Linked DNA regions of Homo sapiens: region 2 is linked to region 1. Evidence: promoter capture Hi-C in human tissues and cell types (Jung and others, 2019). All regions are on one chromosome and are shown on one strand. The core of a region is centred on a gene start or on the middle of the fragment in contact, and the rest is flanking DNA. Distances in the headings are between cores, read along the strand shown.

Evidence for each region. Contacts are between HindIII fragments. The study calls those that stand out against the background at their distance.
Region 2: a fragment that was not itself captured here is called in contact with the fragment with the promoter of POLR2D in region 1 in 1 of the 25 tissues and cell types used here (pancreas).

The regions. Positions count from the first base shown.
Region 1 is chr2:127,854,449-127,860,182 of GRCh38, reverse strand. POLR2D (RNA polymerase II subunit D) reads left to right here and starts at 2,028. Exons shown (of 4, transcript NM_004805.4): 1 at 2,028-2,155. The coding sequence starts at 2,083. It also overlaps the pseudogene LOC107985803. RefSeq lists a silencer at 1,884-2,193 and an enhancer at 2,424-2,593. The HindIII fragment of the contact is 23,647 bases long and covers 1-5,734 here.
Region 2 is chr2:127,983,922-127,989,150 of GRCh38, reverse strand. It overlaps SAP130 (Sin3A associated protein 130), which reads left to right. Exons shown (of 21, transcript NM_001330301.2): 14 at 2,189-2,366. Among named protein-coding and RNA genes, the nearest start is that of SAP130, 42 kb to the left of the region's middle. RefSeq lists an enhancer at 2,686-3,186. The HindIII fragment of the contact is 5,804 bases long and covers 1-5,229 here.

The DNA.
Region 1 (5,734 bases), core at 779-3,278:
ACAGCTAGAATCTTTTCTGGCTGGCAGTCCCACAGGCCTAAGCGCAAATCTTGGTCCTGCCATTTATAAGGCATTTCCTACTTTGTGACAGGACTGTGAATCTCCAAAGTAACCTGACCTTAGAGAAGTCATAGGTAAAAAGTAAAAATAGTAAATGTTTTGCCCAGACCCCAGCACATGGTGCAGTGGCTGGGCAGCTGTGGTTATCTGGCCTGTCACTCAGTGCTGGGTGTACAAGGGAACACCGGCAAGCATCAAACCCTCCGGAACCTTCAGCTTCTCTGAGCACGTGAAAGGGGGCGTGGCCAGCCCTTCAGGTCTGGGCAGGTTCCTTAGAGAAGCAGTGCTGAAGCAAAGAGCATGCCCTGGAGGAGGGAACTTCTCAGGTGGTGGGAGACCACATTGCCGGCACTGCAAGACAGCAAGACGCTGTGGACGAGCCCTCGCAGGAGATCAGGCTGCACAGGCCAGACAGGATTCCCAGGACTGCCTTCTAAAGGTTTTCTTTTTCTTTAGTTTTAAAATTTTTACTTTTTAATTTTTTAAGTCTTTTTAAAAATTATTATTTGAGACAGAGTCTCACTCTGTCGCTGTCGCCCAGGCTGGAATGCAGTGGCGCGATCTCGGCTCACTGCAACCTCCGCCTCAGCCTCCCGAGTAGCTGGGATTAAAGGCGCCCGCCACCACGCCCCGGCTTTTTTTTTTTTTTTTTTTTTCTGTAGAGACGTGATTTCACCATGTTGGCCAGGCTGCTTTCGAACTCCTGACCTCAGGTGATCTGCCCCCCCCACCCCCACCGGCCTCCCAAAGTACTGGGATTACAGGCGTGAGCCCCCGCGCCTGGACTTTGCCTTTTTTTTTTTTTTGGCAGGGTCTCTGTTGCCCAGGCTGGAGTGCAGTGAGGCAATCATAGTTCACTGCATCCCTCAAGCGATCCACCCGCCTCGGCCTCCCCGATCCCTGTGACTACAGGCACGCGCCACAACGCCCGGCTAATTTTTGTATTTTTTAGAGACGAGGTCTCACTATGTTGTCTAGGCTGGTCTTCAACTCCGGAGCTAAAGCGATCCTCCAGCCTCGGCCTCCCAAAGTGCTGGGATTACAGGCGTGAGCCACCGTGCCCGGCACAATTCATTTTTTATTAAATCAACAGAGTTTACAATATGACCATCTAAACATTGTTGACTAATGAGCTAAGATATTGTTGACTAATAAGCTATGATTATTTACCTTATTGTACAACCTTTTGTTTTCTCCAGTGTCGAAAACAGCATCATTTTTTATTTGCTTTTTTTTTTTTTTTAATATATTTTTTGAGACGGAGTCTTACTCTGTCGTCCAGGCTGGTGTGCAGTGGCGCGATCTCAGCTCCCTGCAACTTCCGCCTCCCGGGTTCAAGCGATTCTCCTGCCTCAGCCTCCCCAGTAGCTGGGATCACAAGCGCCCACCACCATGCCCGGCTAATTTTTGTATTTTTAGTAGAGATAGGGTTTCACTATGTTGCCCAGGCTGGTTTCAAACTCCTGACCTCAGGTGATCCCCTCGCCTCGGCCTCCCAAAGTGCTGGGATTACAGGCGTGAGCCACTGCGCCCGGCCGTCATTTGCTTAATTTTCTACGCATCACCCAAATGTTCCAACAGACGTGTGGTAAAAGCCTCTGAATATCATTGTCCGCGTACTCAGAAGTATCAGATAATCCACCACAAATCAATAAAATTTTAGAAGTTTAAGTCGGTGAAGGAAATTGGACCCGGTACTTTCGGAGCCGGCTGCCCTGCTCTCCATCAGCAGGCGTTCCTGCATCTCATCTGACCTCCTCCGTCCAGAAAGGCGTAGGGACCTGCCCCAGGACGTCTGCGCGGCGAGGAGCATGGGAGAAGAGAGGGAGTGCAGGGCGCCCCTCGGTGGCGGGGAGCCTCCAGGACCTCACCAACCGGTCCCCTCGCTGCGCCCCGTCCGGCTCGCACTCCCGGCCCCGCCCACCCCTCGGGGCCCCTCCCGAGACCACGCCCCTTCCGCGGCCGTTGCTCCGCGCTTCTGCTTCCGGCGGCGCTGGTGGTGGCGCGCGGCGCGGCGCGGCGATGGCGGCGGGTGGCAGCGATCCGCGGGCTGGCGACGTAGAGGAGGACGCCTCACAGCTCATCTTTCCTAAAGGTTGGGCTCGGGGCTGCCAGACTCCCCCGCGCCACTTCGCGTGGTCGCCGCAGGCCTGGCGTTATGCGCGCTTCGCCCAAGGCCCTGCCTCAGCGGCGGCTTGGGCAAGCCCCAGCGCGGCGTGGGGCTGGGGAGGGAACATGGCCTTGGGAGGGACCATGGCCTTGGGAGGGACCGCCTGGGCAACTGGGTTATTTTATGTGATAAACTGCGAAGTTCCGGGGACCTGTGTCAAAGATAAACAAAGCCGGACACTCAGGTGGTAAGGACAGATTTTTAAACAGTAATATACTGTTGCACTAGGGAAAAGAGCCCAGCGTGAACCGAACTCAACTTCGATTAGTACAGAACCTCTGGGCGTTTTAACGGAGAATTAGGGAATAAGGATGTGGTGAGCGGGAGCTCGGGGGAGTCGGGGAAGTGAGAAATGTAAAAAAGCGGGAAGAGGAGGATTGGTCCGTGTGAACGCAGCTTGGTTTGTTGACTGGCGCACCTGTCGAAGTTAGGCCCCTACCCTCCCACAGAGGCAGAGAGACAGAGTCCTATCTTCAGCTGTTGGCTGGAACAAATTATTTTGGCAGCCTTGAGTTTTCTCACGCACGCACTTTAAGTGGTTGGGGAGGGTATTCCTAGGGATGAGGTCTTCAGCTCAAAAACTTGAAAATGTATACAGCTGTCTTACACTTTATTGATTTATTGATTTATTGATTGAGATAGGGTCTCGCCCTCTTGTTGAGGCTGGAGTATAGTGGCATGATCAGAGCCCACTGCAACCTCAACCTCTCAACCGCTCAAGCTATCCTCCCACCTCAGCCTCCCAAGTAGCTGAGACCACAGATGCACGCCCCCATACCTGGCCCATTAAAAAAATTTTTTTCGTAAAGACAGGGTCTCACTATGTCGCCCAGGCTGGTCTCAAACTCCTGGGCTTAAGTTAATCACGGCACCTGACCTATCTTATTCTTTTATTCATTCATTCATTTACTTATTTAGAGACAGAGTCTCACTCTGTTGCCCAGGCTGGGGTGCAGTGGTACGAACTCGGCTCACTGCAACCTCCGTCTCCTGGGCTCAAGTGATTATCCTGCCTCAGCCTCCCGAGTAGCTGGGATTACAGGTGCCCACCACCACACCCGGCTAATTTTTGTATTTTCAGTAGAGCTGGGGTTTCACCATGTTGGCCAGCCTGTTCTCGAACTCGTGACCTCAGGTGATCCACCCAGCTCGGCCTCCCAGAGTGCTGGGATTACTGATGTGAGCCATTGCCTGGCAAAATAATAAATTTAAAATTAAAACGGAAATACTACCCTCTAAGAAATAAAAAATATAAAAATGAAAAAATGTTTATTATGTGTTTTTTGTATTTTATGGTTTAATACGTTAGAACTTACTATTTTAGTTGTTAATTTATTTTTTTTAATTTTTTTTTTAATTTTATTTTGAGATAGGGTTTCACTCTGTCACCCAGGCTGGAGTGCAGTGATGTGATCTCGGCTCACTGCAACCTACCCCTCCTAGTTTCAAGCCATCCTGCCTCAGCCTCCCAAGTAGCTGGGACTACAGGCGCCTGCCACCATGCCCAGCTAATTTTTGTGTTTTTAGTAGGGACGGTGTTTCACCATGTTGGCCAGGCTGGTCTCGAACTCCTGACCTCAAGTGATCCACCCACCTTGGCCTCCCAGTGCTGAGATTACAGGTGTGAGCCACCTCACCCTGCCTTTTTTTTTTTTTTTTTTTGAGACGGGATCTCATTCTGCTACCTAGGTTGGAGTGCAGTGGTGTGATCACAGCTCACTGCAGCCTCAACCTTCCCTAGGCTCAGGTTATCCTCTCACCTCACTTCAGCCTCTGGAATACTTGGGACTACAAGTGCAGGCCACCACTCCTGGCTAATTTTTGTATTTTTTTGTGGAGACAAGGTTTCACCATGTGGCCCAGGCTGGTCTTGAACTCCTGGGCTCAGGTAATCTGCCCGCCTCGACCACCCAAAGTGTTAGAAAGTATAGGTGTGAGCCACTGCACCTGGCCTATTAATGGTCGTAATGACGTATCCTCGGTAAAATTTCCAGATGACATACAGCCAAGGAGTTGTTTTTCCTTTTTTAGCAACAGAGATTAATTATGGCCATTGTTCTTAAAATATTTGCACAAGAGAAAATAACAGGCAGATCCCCTGATCTATTTCCTTTTGTTTCTAAATAAATTGTGTGTGTGTGTGTGTGTGTATGTGCGCGCGTGTGCGCGCCTTCACTTGAAAATGTTCCTTGGGATTAGCCATGGGGAGAAGTCTTGGATCCCTCCTCTCCATAGTTACACAAAAGTGTCTGAACTGCCTCCCCCATCCCCATTTTGTTGATGCTGAATCCTGGGAATGCCTCCCAAAAGCTCTGTGGTAGGTCTCAGACACCACTTTCCTAGGCACTCTGAGTTACAGTTTGGCTGCCTCGACCTTCCTTGGTTGAAGGGAGTGAGGGTAATGTATTAGTAGTACTTGGGTATTGTTCTTAATGAGAAATAGGGACAGTTGACCAGTTTCCTGGTGTCCTAAAAGTTCCATTCCTTTCCATTTAACAAGTAATTTGGTTTAGTGCAGAAAGGGACCATCTCTCTTTTTTTTTTTTTTTTTTTTTTTTGAGACGGAGTTTCACTGTTGTTGCCTTAGGCTGGAGTGCAGTGGCACAATCTCGGCTCACTGCAACCTCCACCTCCCGGGTTCAAGCAATTCTCCTGCCTCGGCCTCCTGAGTAGGTGGGAGTACAGTCATGTGCCACCACTCCCGACTAATTTTTGTATTTTTAGTAGAGATGGGGTTTCACCATGTTAGGCTGGTCTCGAACTCCTGACCTCAGGTGATTCACCTGCCTTGGCCTCCCAAAGTGTTGGGATTACAGGCGTGAGCCACTGCGCTTAGCCTGGGAGGCATCTCTTAACATTGATTTTTCCAGGACCTGTAAAAGCATCAAAGTTCCAACAAACAGATTTGTAACTGATTAGCTGCTGCTTCCCTTTTTTTTTTTTTTTTTTTTGGCCTGATGTCATTTGTTACTGTCACTTCAGAGTTTGGAGGTTCTGCAGTCCTGATACATAATGCCTTTTCCTCTACTCATTGCTGTGAGGCAGTAGTTTCTTCTGTACCTACACTGCCTCAGTGTTAAGGATTAAAAGAGGTAACTTTCCTGGTATACAAATAGGCTCTCACTGTAGTAAATCCCCTGTTATAGGCTAGAAGACTGAAAAAGAAGGTGTTCTGAGGTTTTCGTTTAAACTCTCCTGCCCTCAGGTAGAAAACAGTTTTTGGTTACCTATTTTTTAATTTATATTTTAATTTTATTTCAATAGTGCTCCAACTGTATTGGCAGCCTATTCTATTTAGTAGCAATGAGTACCTTTCAAATAAAAATACAGTTTCCTCCTGACCCACCACTTAAAACTATCTGTGTTGTAAAAGGAAAATGAAGCTCTTGTCAGTTACCTGGCTTGAGAAATGGGAAGGCATTACTCTGAGGGAGGTGTTAGTGATTTCCCTGATAGTAAACAGACCCATAGCACATCTAAATGTGAAATTGCAAGTCGTTTTGG
Region 2 (5,229 bases), core at 1,504-4,003, 130 kb before region 1:
CTCCAGCCTGGGCCACAGAGTGAGACTCTGTCTCCAAAAAAAAAAAAAGATACAGTATACATCAACAGCCCTAGTATTCATTTGAACATAATGAGAAGTGTTATCTTTTTTAAAAGCTCCTAGTTGTGGGAAAAAATTCACCTTATAAGTAGTATTCTCATTGAAGATTTTCTTCAGAGTTGTACATAAAGCTGTAAAACCTTATGCTGATGTTAGCTAATATTATGAATTCTTAAAAAGAAATACTAGTGGAATAACATTTTGAAAAATGGAATAAGTCACTGTATTTAGATCTTTTTGAGACAGATTCTCACTCTGTCACCCAGGCTAGAGTGCAGTGGTGTGTGATCTTGGCTCACCACAGCCTCATCCTCCTGGGCTCAAGTGATCCTCCCACCTCAGCCGCCTGAGTAACTGGGACTATAGGTGCAAGCTACCATGCCTGGCTAATTTTTGTATTTTTAATAGAGACAGAGTTTTGCCATGTTGCCCAGGCTGGTCTCAAACTCCTGGGCTCAAGTAGTCTACTCACTTTGGCCTCACAAAGTGCTGGGATTACAAGCATGAGTCATTACACCAGCTAGGTTATTTTTTTTTTGGCTGAATTTAAGATTCCATGTACTTGGATTATTATTGATTAGCCATTTCTCTAATGTAGTTTAAAAAAACAAAATGGCTGTTTCTCAGCCAAGGCACTGATTTTTTTTTTTTTTTTTTTTTTAAAAAGACAAGGTCTCACTCACTCTGTTGCCCAGCTGGAACACAGTGGTACAATCATGGCTCACTGTAGCCTTGACCTTCTGGGCTCAAGCAGTCCTTATGCCTCAGACACCCGTGTAGCAAGGACTACAAGTGCATGCCACCACACCTGGGTAATTATTTTTGATTTTTTGTAGAAACAGGATATTGCTTGTTGCCCAGGCTGGTCTCGAACTCCAGAGTTCAAGCTATCCTTCAGCCTTGTCCTCCCAAAGTGCTGCGATTGCAGGCATCAGCCACTGTGCCTGGCTGGAGCTATGAATTTTAATTGTTCTGTAGACCTTGAATTCAACTATTTAATCAAAGTCTCTCTGATTTTTTATTACTAAACTAAATGTCTATGATAGAGATGCAATTTACCCATGATGACCCACCCGGTAGGATGGTGTACTACATATTTAAGGGCACCTGCCAGAAAACTCATGATATTAAGTTGACTCCTATGAAATTGCCATTTTTATAGGTCAAAAACTGTCAAACACAGGTATTTTCTGATTATGATCTCATGCTCACCAGTATTTTGATGCTAACTTTAAGTGTATAGTTAAAATATCTGTTAGTTGAATGTGTTTCTAAAGATAGACTGGGGAGGGTACCATTATTGAGGGTTGAGAGAGATTGGTATTTTACAAAAACTGAATGAGTACATTTCTTGAAGTGTACATTGGAGCATGCTATCAGGCTGGTAGATAGTGTTTTCTATTTGTGGCTCTTGTATTAAGCCTTTCTTGTCTGTCAGTTTTCTTATCTCTAAAATGGAAATTACAATGATGGTAAGAATTATATCAGTAAAAAATGTAAAGTAACTAGTAGAGTGAGAGACTATACTAGATACTATGTACTTTGTTCACCTTATCTCATTTATTAGTAACTGTGATTATAGAGCAAAGAAAAAATAATGGTATGGGCCAAGTGTGGTGGCTCACGCCTGTAATCCCAGCACTTTGGGAGGCCAAGGCAGGTGGATCACTTAAGGTCAGGAATTCGAGACTAGCCTGGCCAACACGGTGAAACCCCGTCTCTACTAAAAAATACAAAAATTATCCAGGTGTGGTGGTGCACGCCTGTAATCCCAGCTACTCTTGTGGTTAAGGCAGGAGAATCACTTGAACCTGGGAGGTGGAGGTTGCAGTGAGCTGAGATTGCACCACTGTATTCCAGCCTGGGCAAGAGAGCAAGACTCTCTTTCAAACAAAGAAAAAGAAAAAATAATGGTATGGATCATGCATCAGTAGACTTAGTAACTGCTCCCATTTAGCTATCTGCTCTTTGTCGGATGAACATTGTGCTCCTGTCCCTTATCAGTTTGAAATTGGACAGTTAGAACATGGATACCTAATTCTAGTGGTCTCATCATTTTTATTTATGTCTTCTATGGCATTTTGTTTCCCTCTCTTCAATGTTCTTTCCTGTTGCCTCTCTCCTGTAGCAGTGGTGTTGGCAGATGGAGCCACAATTGTGGCCAACCCTATTAGCAATCCATTCAGTGCTGCTCCAGCAGCAACAACCGTGGTGCAGACCCACAGCCAGAGTGCTAGCACCAACGCTCCCGCCCAGGGCTCATCGCCACGGCCAAGCATACTCCGGAAGAAACCTGCCACAGATGGGTGAGTAGACCTGGTAGTGCCGAATGACACCTCTGGTTCTGGATATAACTGGTATACATAATAGGCACTCTTATCTAATGCTGGTATCAAACTCATCTCTCATTTTCTGTGGTGTGTTAAAATTTCCTCCAAAACAACTTGACCACAGGATTATTCAGTAGAGCCTTACCCAGCTGAGACTGTAAGATCTTAACAAATCCTGGAGTCAGTGAGGTGTTAGTTTGTAAGCATCTGTTGCATACTGCTTTAATTCTCTCTAGTTCTGGAACTTCAATCATAGAACTTTTAAAGTAGTTTATAAGTAACTCTTGGGCTTGTGTAGGTAGTTACCTTAACTCATACTATAAACTTCATTCAGCATGAATCGTTGCTGTTGAAACGGGAAAAGTTCCCTTGTCCCCCTCGCAGGGCGTGCAACAGTGGGAGTGGCTCGCTTCTTCATTGCCCTGCTACTCAAACCTCTAGGGGAGCATACAGACAGGCAGGCTGTGTCGCTCCAACCCTACAGCAGTGTCTAGAGGTGAATGTTTACAGCTGAAACCCCAGTGGGCATGTGTTACAGAGTGCTCTTTTAGTTTAGCCATCCATAGATGGCTTGCATTAACCAGCTCAATTAGACCCCTGCCTTATGGCAAGGACAGAGAGCTTTCTGTATCCCAGGGTTCTTGCCTTGGTGTACTGGAAGAATGGGATCACACGTGGGCTTGGAGAATGAGTGTAGGGTTTTACTGAGTAGAAGTAGCTCTCAGCAGATGGGGGAAGCCAGAAGGGAGATGGAGCGGCCCCAGCTCTCTTGACTGCCCTGGCCAAACTGCGTCGTTCTGCTGGTCGGGGGCCTGCTGGCATGCCAGCGTCTGTCATGTGCTCTTCCACCGGCATGCTCCCCTTGCTGTCCTCTCGCCGTCCAGCTGCTTGTGTCTTTTGCCAATGCGTTCCTCTTGACGTCCAGCCACTTGTGTGCCTGTCTGCTAGGGTCTCGGAGGTTTTTACAGGCACAGGATCAGGGCGTAGCAGGCCAGGGTGGTCTGGGGGAAATGCAACATTTGGGCAGGAAAACAAAAATGCCTGTCCTCACCTAGATCCGTGGGCACAGGCTGGGGGTGGAGCCCTCACCAGGGACCCGCCCCTTCCCAGCACTTCCCTACTCCCCTTCTATGTCACTGTGGGCAAACAAATTCTGAAGTGTAGTAAGGGTCATATTTGGTAGCAGATAGTGTTTTGTGTTGCCATGTAAGCTTCTCAGTTGGTGGATCATAGGCAGGAAGGTATGTGCTGTGCTGTTTGAGTTAAACATTCTGGAGGTGGGAGATGAGCAGACATGTTTCAGAGAGCAGAGTTTCTGTGGCTCAGCTGAGCTAATAGCATCAACATCAAAAGATTAAAGCAAGTGCAAACTTAAATTGCTGGGACTAGGGTCCATGCAGGGTTTTTATTTGCACAGAGCTGTGCATATACCAGAGTCCCTATCTTTGCTGTTTATGAATACTTTGTACTTTTTTAAAGGATAAGTCAGTCCATGACAAAGTTACCTTATTAGTAAAAACACAAGGCAAAGCTTGTGGTTAAGATGACAGATTGATTACACACATCTAAAATCTTTCTGTCTCATAACCCTATATAACTTTTTTTCAAAAAAGTTGTAAACACACAAGGATGGGGAGAACAGGAGAGGACACAGTAGCAACTGAAGCTGGGAAGCAGACCATCACGCGATGGCGTCCTGGCTCTGAGAAAGCTAAATGTGAAGCTTGCGTAGGGGAAAGTTGAGAACCATCCTCTTTTAAAATTGGAAAATCTTCAAAAGGACCAACAACAGGCAAATCCTGGGGGCGAAGGAAGGGGCTCTGTCCTTTAAGGAGGATAAGTTAAAACCTTTGAGTTTGAAAAGTGTTAAAGTTAGAGCCCAGAATCCCATTTTCTACCTATGCCATGTGGTGTACTGCCCCTTCCCGACTTTAGCAGGAGCCTGAAAGTTCAAACTCTGCAGATGGTCCGCTAGGGTCACCCAGCACTATAGAGGTCATGAGTATTTTACCAGAAAGAGATTGTGACTCACCGTGTGTGTGTGGAGTGCTGAACACTTCCCAGTCCACTCCCTGCTTTCAGCTGATAGAACTCTGGCAGGTGAACTTGATTCTAGATAGAAAATGAGAAGAGGACTCTACTTTCCTTCTGGGGAGTCTATCCAGCCCAAGGGGAAGCTCTAAAGATACTGACACTAGGGCTTCCTTAAGGACAGGGTTAGATTACCCTACAGTGGACCTCATAGTAGACATGCCCTTCCAAAGCTCAGAGCTCCCAGCCAGCATTTCAGTCCCTCTCCCCGACTCTTAATCATGAACATACAACCAAAGATAGGCACATATCTGAGGGGACCTCTAACGGTGGAAGACAGAAACCACAATAAATACATGCCCAAAGCACCTTGGAAGATGTAGAGGCCTGGCAGGGAGAATAAAACACAAAACAAATGAGCAAGGATAAGCAAACAGTATCCGTGATGCCTTCAGAAAGACAAAAGAAAAGGTTGCATCCACAAAACAGTAACACAGTGCTATGCAAAAAGAACATTCAGAGGAGAAAAGAACCGGTCCTGAAATAAGATAGCAGAAATTGAAAGATCAGTAGAAGAGTTGGAAGATAAAATTGAAGAAATCTCAAACGTGGAACAAAAAGACAAGAAAATTGGAGAAAACGATAGGAGAAAATTTAAAACAACAATAAAAAGAACCAGGTCAGGAAATCCAGCCTCCAGGTAATGGGTTTCAACAAGAGAGATCAGAGAAAAGGAACAGGGATTACAAAGTAAGGAGTTTGTTATAATATTGTAATCTCAGTTCAAAAGTTAACTGCAAATATAAAA